Linked DNA regions of Homo sapiens: region 2 is linked to region 1. The links are contacts of gene promoters, found by promoter capture Hi-C in blood cells and fetal thymus (Javierre and others, 2016). All regions are on one chromosome and are shown on one strand. Each heading gives the region's core, a stretch centred on a gene start or on the middle of the fragment in contact. The rest is flanking DNA. Distances are from core to core; before and after follow the strand shown.

Evidence for each region. The method cuts DNA at HindIII sites, captures the fragments that hold promoters and counts their contacts. A CHiCAGO score of 5 or more calls a contact.
Region 2: a fragment that was not itself captured here is called in contact with the fragment with the promoter of VLDLR in region 1 in 1 of 17 cell types (megakaryocytes); the score reaches 5.3 in megakaryocytes.

The regions. Positions count from the first base shown.
Region 1 is chr9:2,619,318-2,624,340 of GRCh38, forward strand. VLDLR (very low density lipoprotein receptor) reads left to right here and starts at 2,470. Exons shown (of 19, transcript NM_003383.5): 1 at 2,470-2,954. The coding sequence starts at 2,873. VLDLR-AS1 (VLDLR antisense RNA 1) reads right to left here and starts at 3,056. Exons shown (of 4, transcript NR_015375.2): 1 at 2,783-3,056. RefSeq lists an enhancer at 2,012-2,306 and silencers at 2,185-2,264, 2,875-3,144, 3,415-3,504, 3,515-3,604. The HindIII fragment of the contact is 5,619 bases long and covers 1,562-5,023 here.
Region 2 is chr9:2,118,055-2,122,768 of GRCh38, forward strand. SMARCA2 (SWI/SNF related BAF chromatin remodeling complex subunit ATPase 2) reads left to right here. Exons shown (of 34, transcript NM_003070.5): 26 at 1,404-1,481. Among named protein-coding and RNA genes, the nearest start is that of SMARCA2, 110 kb to the left of the region's middle. The HindIII fragment of the contact is 4,642 bases long and covers 1-3,814 here.

The DNA.
Region 1 (5,023 bases), core at 1,220-3,719:
AGCCAGGGATGCTCACTATGTGTTGCTTCAACAAATAAATGAATGTGGTGGATTGTAGGAGTGAATGGGATTGCCTCTGCATTTACCTGACGGCGTCGGGAATCCAGCAGTGTCAACTTCTCTGAACCCAGTTAGTTCAACCATTTCAGTCTCCACTTATGATCAATTAGCTCTGTTAGTTCAACCACTTCAATATCCACTTATCATCAATTTATCTTTTTAGTTATTAGCTACTTTCTATCATAATCCAATGAATTTCTCCATACAACCTTTTTCTTCTAATAAACAACACCTTGCAGAGAGCTGGTCCTTGAGGCCACGGAGCACTTTGATATAATGTGGCTTGGCTTTCTTTTCAGTTTACAGGCCAAAAGGCAGACACAGAGAGGCACAGTGATTTTTCCCAAGTTACACAGTCAATCAGAGATGGAGCCAAAAGTTATGCTTTCTTTTGAGTCAACAAAAAAGCTACAGGATTGAATACAGAGCTGCAGCTAAGTTCACTGAAAGTTTATTTATATCCCTTGGAGAATTAGAAAGTACTCACACACGTTTTTCAAAGTTAAGTCTTATTATACCATATCAATGTATAGCTTGTAGTATACCTGTATCTCTGAGTAAAGTATTAAAAACAAGTCATATGACTGTTTATTAATGCTGCCTCTTTTTGTATTGATTCCACCCATCCCTTCTACTCCTTTCCTCTTCTGTAAAGCAGTAGCTCATCAGATGGCATTTCAGAACCCTGAGAATATGAAAGACATCATGCACTAAGGTTTTCCTATCACATCTCAATGCCATTAGGTGAATAACACCGGCATGCATCTTCACTACTAAATGTCATACAAACAAATTTCAGTTGTTTCACATGCAACCTGTGTGGCTGCTGCAGTTTGTATCAACTATGTAACCACAGGGTGGGCAAAATAGCATTCAAAATGAGCTATAGTGCAAGATACCATCCATACGTAGAGTTAAGCCCTTTCATGCTTAGCAGTCACAATCAGGATATCTTTGGCCCACAGAAACCTATCCTGACTGGAATTTTCCTCTCCTGTGTGTCTCCTGGATATAGTAAGTTCCTAATAAACATCTCCTCTGATTGCTAGCCTTGACAAATTTCCAGGAGAACCAGGGCAAGGAGAAGACAGTGAGGCAGTGCCCGCTGCTCTTCAGATCACCAACAGAATAGAGTCAGAATATGATATTATTGAAACCTTCCAAGTTTGAATTAAGATAAAAACAACTTTTTCAAAATACCAAAAACCTTTTATTTAAGAAAGTGAAATCGCTCGATGTGCCCTCCCACTCTGGTTAGATGCTCAACAGACCACAGCAGACAATGCACCTCAACCAGGGCTAAGTGTGCAAGAAAACTGAAGTACACAAAAAGCAAATTATAGACTCAGGTACTGTCAGGCACAAAAGAAGAACCAACCCTTTCTAGGAGTCTTGTCTTTGCTTCCTTTATTCTTTCCTCGATTCTTGTAATTGAATGTTACAAAGTATATCAAGAGGAATAAACGTATGGGGCCCCTCTCTTCCAAACAAGAAAAGGTTAAGCTTTTAATTACAGGCCCTCAAACTATCATTTTGTGCAATTAGCAATTAACTATAATCGTTGATGAGCAAATGCAAAGCTGCGCTAGCAATTTCCCTTCTCCTCATCCCAGGCTGGGTTATTTCAGTCTTGTTCTATTACAGAGGACCAGCCACAACCGCGCGCACTCTCTTTCAAACATACACACTCTCTCACTTAAAGACACATTTAGTTTTCGGCAAAACGGCATCTCAGCGTGCGATTGAGACCGGCATCCCAAACCCCACTTTTGAGCAGCCCAAACGTTTGGAGCCCCTCCGCTTCATCACTTTCTGAGTGGATAGAGGAGGCCCGAAGAAGATGCTACCTACCAGCCTCTCTCAGGGGCGCAGGAGAGGGTGGTAGAGAGATGCTTGTTGCCCCTGGAAACTGCAAGTACCCCCCAGGTGCACGCCCCGTCAGTGGGGAGGCGGTGGCAACAGCAACGATAGTTGCATCAGCGCTAACTGCTGCTGCTGCTGCGTGTTCTGCCGGAGGCTGCCGGGAGGGTACAGTAATGACTGTAGGGAGCGCACAGCCGCTGCGGCGGCAGGTTCCCTGGATCAGGAAATTAGGACAGGCACCCGGGATTGGAGGCGAGGGCGGCGCGCGAGCCAACCAGCGGTCGCCCCGGGCCCCCGTGAGCCCCAGGCGAACGCGCGGAGCAGCCGGGCCCCTAGAGCGGTCCGGGTGGCGGCGGCGGCAGCCACGACCACGACCGCGGTCACTCACGCACGCTCACACTCGCACGCTCCCCGCGCGGGCACCCGGCTGCCCGGCGCGTGCAAGAGGAGCGCGTCGAGGGAAAGGAGGGCCGAAGCCGCCGCGCTCCCGCCCGCCCGCCGCGCCTCCCGTTGACCACGCCCCCTCCGGCCCCCTCCCCGCTGCTCACCCCGCTCTCCGGCCGCCGCCGGTGCGGGTGCTCCGCTACCGGCTCCTCTCCGTTCTGTGCTCTCTTCTGCTCTCGGCTCCCCACCCCCTCTCCCTTCCCTCCTCTCCCCTTGCCTCCCCTCCTCTGCAGCGCCTGCATTATTTTCTGCCCGCAGGCTCGGCTTGCACTGCTGCTGCAGCCCGGGGAGGTGGCTGGGTGGGTGGGGAGGAGACTGTGCAAGTTGTAGGGGAGGGGGTGCCCTCTTCTTCCCCGCTCCCTTCCCCCGCCAACTCCTTCCCCTCCTTCTCCCCCTTTCCCCTCCCCGCCCCCACCTTCTTCCTCCTTTCGGAAGGACTGGTAACTTGTCGTGCGGAGCGAACGGCGGCGGCGGCGGCGGCGGCGGCACCATCCAGGCGGGCACCATGGGCACGTCCGCGCTCTGGGCGCTCTGGCTGCTGCTCGCGCTGTGCTGGGCGCCCCGGGAGAGCGGCGCCACCGGAACCGGTGAGTGAGGACGCGCCCCTCCGCCGGCGGGCGGGACCCAGCCGGGGCACCGGGAGACCCCGAGGCGTAGGTCTCCGTTTGCCCACCCGCCTCCTAGGAGGCGCCTCTCGGTTCTCCTCGCCTTCCCTCCCTCCCCTCCGTGGTGGCGCCTCTGAGCTGTCAGCGCCGAGGCTAAAGGGAGCCGGGCTTGGGGAACAGCGGGGTTCGGGGTGCCCCGACGCCTCGCCTGAACTAGTCTTCTGCCCCTCACTCCGCCTCCCCCAGAGCCGCTGCTTCGCCTCGTTTCTCGCCCTCTTGACGGGCGCCGAGGTGCGTGGGCTTCTGAGCATTGAACAATGGTTCTGCCTCCTCTGCCAGGCGCAGTGTTGGGAAGGAGGCAGAGGGCCAAGACGTGTGCGGCAGCCTCGGGCGCACCCTCGAACCCCGGGGAGTGCGGGAGCGGACGGGGGGAGAAGGTGAGCGCCTCCGGGGACGCGGAGCGCCAGGGGCCGGCCGGGCTTCAGAGTCTTCCGGCGGCCGCGAGCTGGCGCACGTTCGGTGGGCGGCGGCCGGGAGGCTCCGCGGAGCCGAGGGCACCCGGACTGCGACTCCCCCGGCGCGGGGCCGCCTCTCCGGCGTGCGGGGTAGGGGAGCGGCGGGGCTTTACGCAGGACTCTGCTCTGGGCGCTTCTCCTCTCCCTTTTCCCCGCCTCGGGCGGCGTTTGGAAACCGCTCGGGTCTCCCGTGTAGCTGAACGCGGAGGGGGAGTGGAGGGGAGACTTAATCAGGTTAGTTTGCTGACCCTCCTTCCCGGTGACGTTTCCTCGAGAGGAATTGAGTCCTAGGCTAGTGACTGTAATTAGCCTTCATTCTACACAATAGCTCAAAGGAGCAGCGCGAGAGCGAGCGTGTGGCCCTGTCTTGTTGGGAAGGGCGGCGGTGACTACTGTCGGGTCCCCAGACTCTGCCGCGGGGGCCTGGGGGCCCCGCCTGGTCGTCAGCCACGTTCCCACTTGGGGCCTCGTAACTTTCCTGGACAGGCGACAGGAAGCCTTTCTGAGAGGACTCAGTCGGAATCCTAGCGCGTCCCCGAAGTGATCTTCAGATGTGACGCCGAGGGGCTTGCTTGCCAGCTGCAGGGAATTGGGACTGAAAGCCGCCCAGGCCCTTAACACCCGTTCCAGAGTCCCTGGCTCCCGTCGCCGGGTGGCTTCAGGGGCCCTGCCGGCCTGCAGTCACGTGCTCCTGAAGTGAGAGCGAACTTTAAAGCATGTGGTCAAGGAGCCTGTCGGGCAGCGCCTGGGGTTTTTACGTCTCCGAATGCCCCTGCCCTTTGGTTGCCACTGTCCGGAGCGTGTGAACTGGGACTGGCCTTTCCGCCCTCTGCGATTGGTTAGCGGTGCGATCACGTTTAGGTTGGTCACATGGTTCCGCGGACTCTTAAGTGGGCAGCATGGGCAGTGTTATTTTCAATGGAAAGTAGGAGACTCCACAGGCTCTTACGGGCTGTTCTCTCAAATGCCTTCCCCTGCCTGGACTCTTTGAAGAGGACGAATGTGTAGTGAACATGGAATCTGATGTGTAACAAGCCTGAGAGCCTAGAAAAGCTCTGCTTACAAGAGTTTCCAAACGCTAGCATTAATCATTAATAGATGAGTAATACTAACTTATTAAACGATTTCTCAGTATAGTGCCATGACTTGCATTATGCCTTTTGTAACATTTCAAAACGCTAAGGTATACCAGAAGGAGGGACAATTATCCAGGAAGGTGAGAGAAAAGTTTCGTTTTTGCTGCATGTCCCTTCCACTAGAGGTTAACTTTACCTTATAGAATGCTAGGAATGCACCTAAACTACTGACATGAGTTAGTCAAAGCCAGATGTTCACCTTGTATTGGGCAGGTGAGGATCCTTTTCACTTTGTCACATGTGAAATATTTGACATGCCATGAACAATGGAAAAACAAATTCTTCAAAGGAGAGGAAGCAGATTCTTCCAGAACTGGAGGAAATTTGGGCTGAGGCAGTTATTGACCCTAAACCAATCCCAACCGGCATCTGTCTTAAGTTCAAAGTCTCAGGGCATGTG
Region 2 (4,714 bases), core at 244-2,743, 500 kb before region 1:
TTACAAGAGAATCTTTTCATCTTGGGCATGGGGTTGTCTGAGCCCCTCATGGTCCAGGTGATGAGAGGGTAATGTGTGGTTCTAGGAAGAAAGTAGGCGAAGCGGGACATCTGTTCACCAGAGGAGACATTACCAGATATTTTGTACTGTGAAGTCTGAACCCACTCCCAGCTAGTCTGTGTCCTTGTCAGATGAAATGTAATATTTAGACAAATTGACTTTAATCAATCTGGAGGCAAACTAGAATAGAAGGTTTTTCAGAAATAATTATTATCTTGAATTGTAGATTTTTTTACTTTATTGGATTGCATTCATTTCTAACACTTATTAAGTTCCTGCAGTGCGAAAGACGTTATCTTGGGAGCCGACACAGTCATCTCATTTGAGCCGCTAGTACACTCATACTCTTTCTCTAAAACAAGTTGCCTCTTTTTGAATATACAGTTTGTGAAATTGGATGTCTGAAGTTCTGTGTTTTCCTCTTTCTTCCCTCGACTGATACACTGAAATTCCCCGTTTGATTTCTAACAAGCCCACTCAGCATATGATAAAAATAATTTGGGAAGATAAATCCTGAAGCATATGCCGAACTTTTAGAATCATTTTTTAAGTGTGGAAGTCATCCTATAACATTGCTAAAAATCCTGAGAACTGTTGGTTTCTGAGGAATTAGCAGAGAGATAATGTACCTTTGTTTGACGTAATATAAAATGAAAATTTTAGCCCATATGTAATTGCTTTCTCTGCTTCATTTAAATTATTTTAATTAAGTATAATTTTGAGGTTTTTTTTGTTACTGATACCTTTTTAGTTATCCCATCCATAGCTCCAATCATTAACAATAATACCCATAGAAATATATTAAGCACACTTCAAAGGCTATATATTTGGCACATATATGTGATTTTTATTGTCTTAGTGCCTAGTAACAAGGTTTCACATACTTATGTCTTTTGTAAGGATTTGAAAATAAGCATTTATATTTGGCATAAGGTAAATGGAATTAAAAGAATTAATGTTAGGTACTTTTTCATATGGATGTCCTTATTAAAATCTTACATCCCCATGTGAAATAGATGTCATACCCATATGACCAATGAGGTCACTGAAGCGAGGAGACATTAAGTAACTTGTTGTAAAAGTAACAGAATCAAGATACACATCCAGGAGAACTCATATTTCTTATAGTGGACCACAGTTTCCTCCCTGAACGGATTTTGCTCTGGGAAGATGGTTTTAATAGCTTGTAAAATAGTAACGTCAAGGACTAAATCCAGCAACCCCTTCCCTTTTCTTTCTGCCTTGAGAAATGGGACCCCTCTGGTCTGGAGGACAGATCACTTACTTGTTTGTACCTTGCCCCAGCTGTCCACTGGTTAAAATCACTCTGTTTTTAACCCCAGGAAGAAGATGAAGTACCGGACGATGAGACTCTGAACCAAATGATTGCTCGACGAGAAGAAGAATTTGACCTTTTTATGGTAATGTTACAGAAAATCATGAACACAAATGCTTTATACCTCTGCCCCTTTTTCTGTTAAGCAGAATGTCTGCAGCCTGCGTGCCTGGCAGAACTTCATACGTAAAGCCTATGCCTTTCCTTCAGTTCAGAGGCTGCAAACTGGCTGGAGTTAGCCTGCAGACATATTTTGTTTGGCCCACGCAGCGTTTTTTAAAATTTCCCATTCATTGCCAACATAAAAAAGAATCCTGATTTCTGGCTTCTCTTGAAAAATGAGATCGGGCAGTACCAGGCCCACATCTTTGTGTGGAAACAGTTGGCCAGGGCTGAGTAGCAGCTGCACTCTCTGGACAGGCCTCGCGGTCTACAGCTTACCATAGACGCCCTCCTGTTCCCAGTTCGTTTCTAATCCCAGGCCAGTGTCATTCAGGAAGCCTACCTGGCTCCTATAGGCATTGGAACTTACAACAGTGCCCTTACAGGATCAAAGCAACATGCTCCTTAGGGAGATAGGTGGACAACAGCTAAAACAACACACAGGTGTGCCTTTTCAGATTGTTGACGAGAGCCCGCTTAAATGAATGGGAACCTTCAAGGTGTGCATAAAGGTGTAGCCTTCATTTAAGGATCAAAATCAGTTGGATTTCCCTCCAGTATCTTCAATCATTTTCATCTTCATCAAAGACTGATTACAGAGAGAGTAAATATAAACCACAACTTTGGTGGTTGAATGCTGCAGAACCCTAAAGTTAGAGGTCCCAAATTTGAGTGCCATCAGATCTTACATGAGTAATTTGCATGTGTGAAGCAAGTGGGCAGAGGTAGGTGTACTGGAGATGCTTTGTCTATGGGGGGACAGAGCTGCAAGGTAGAAATGTGAGACCTATGTCGCCAGAAATGACAAATTTTCAAGGGGAGCTTGAAGTCTAGGTGTTTATATGTGATCTCTAGATTTTAAAACACTGCAACTAAATCCAACTTTTTAAGTTATTATATAACACTGCATGCCAAACAAAACACAACTGTGGGCCAAATATGATCCACAGGGTTTGCAATCTCCACCTTTTTAGCCTAGACAGAATGGAACTCCACCTGTTTGGAGAGGCTTATGTTATTTTGGGGTTTTGTGTGTGTGGCTTTTTTCTGGGAACATTGATTGTATATAATGATCCACAATAAAATTTTCTTTCTCAGGAAAATTCAGGTAGCTGTGGGAATAACTACTAAACTGGAATATGCACTTCCCTTTCTCCCTCCGTCCCCGAAATGAACCACCCTTCCCAAGTAAAGCTATTTCAGAGAGGAATGGTAGTAAGAAAGACTTAACAGCATGGTCAATGTAGGGCATTCATAAATTCTAGATTTCTTAACTCACACTGGTCAGCATAATCAAAGATTACAATATTCTCTATTTAGGGAGGTTAAAGATACCCATCAGAAATAGACATCCCCTCTGTCCTTGAAGAACTAATTAAAAGGCAGATTACTGGGGAACACCCAAGCAAGAGACCCTCAGCTGATCACTGTTAGGCAATAATTCAGCACTGCTAAAGCCGCAGATACTCTCAAGACACTGGAGAGGACAAGCTGCTTGCCATTATACAAATTAGATTAGGCCCAGAAATGGAGAATTCTTTCAGCAGCCCTGAAGTAAGGGGGTGAGTGTACTTTCCTGCCTTACTTTTGGGCTATTTGTAGAAATTGAAAACCTCAGAAACAATCTGAATATCTTGGAAGGCACAGCCTTCTTTTAATTTGGGACTATTTTACCACTCAAAGAACAGGGTTGTAACACAGGTGAGGCTGGCTAGGGAACACTTTTTGTAGGCACTTTGATTTTGTGAATTTTCTGCTGGTTTCTTAAAGGCTGGCTTCTATTTTGAGGATTAGACAGATTTTAGGTTTGGTTTAGTTTCTTCTAATCCACCGGCCGCCTTTGGCCAATTCACTATTCCTTAGCACCTCCACTTGGGGGCAGGAAATAAAATTTGAATCTCTGCCAGCTACAGATTAAAAAGTTTGGTGAGAAACAAGAATGGAATGTGAGCTAGAATAAATCTTTGGATTTTAAATATTTAAACTCTTTATCCATTATTAGAAAAGAGTGAGTTCTCTATAAAATTAATGCAAACTTATTATTTGATTTTGTATCATAGACACTGGTTTACACATGATAAGCAGATAGTTTATTTAAAATAACGTCTTTTAAAAAAAGCATGTCTTGCTTTCTCTTTCTAAAAATGTAACTTCAGAAAAAGTATCTTTTATACCAATTACTTAGGAATTTTACCAAAAAGATCTTTGGCAGCTCAAGATAAGTATCTGAGACATTTTGCTAACATACAAACATTAAGCTTTTAGATGCTATGTTCTCTACAAAGGGAAAAAGCACTTTTAAAACTAATTGTACTTGTAAGCATAAGGTTTATAATCAGATCTCAAGACCAATTATTCACAAAGTAACTAAATAGTAAGTTTGACTTTTGCCATAATGTTGAATTAATTATATTGGTATTTTGTGGGTAGAAATCTCTAGGGAGAGATGCAGTTATTAAGACTTTAAGCTTATCTTATGTAATCGAATCTACCTTTCCTAAAAGAAAAAAGAAACAAGTGCATAATTTACTTTTCTATCAGAAAAGATTTATTTTCTCAATTGTGGACAAATATATTAGCAAGAATAATGTCCATAGAAATGTATTGATTAAACATACCTCAAAGACTATTTTTTTGCTGTAGATAATAGTAGCAGTAAAACCAAAGATTGAAATGGCAGTATTTTGTCATCTCAGTATAGGACATTAACAAAATTTTTTTTTTTCTTATTAGCTCTCTAATAACTATTAGGAGGTTGCCTCACGAAGCCCCTCTTTAGAACTGCTGTAAAGAAGGCAACCTCTGTGTGCCAGTTATGAAGGTTTGGTGGATCCATTTCTCATACCAAAACATTAGAAGACAGGATTAAGCATCGTGAGCTAATTATAGCACATGACAGAGCAAGGTGGCCACATTTATCAACCAATGGGACTTCACCTGTCTCCCAAGCCTACCAGATTCTGGAAATGTAATGACTTCCAAAAATGTGGAAGAAGTATAAAGAGCTTTGACCACTAATTTTAAAATAGGTTCTAGAGGTCATATTTGGGTTTGCGTAGATATTTCATTTACATTTTATCAGTTTTAGCTTTTAAGAAAACATAATATTGAATCCCAATTTCAGTATGGTAGAACCAAAGGAAGAAGGAAAAGGTA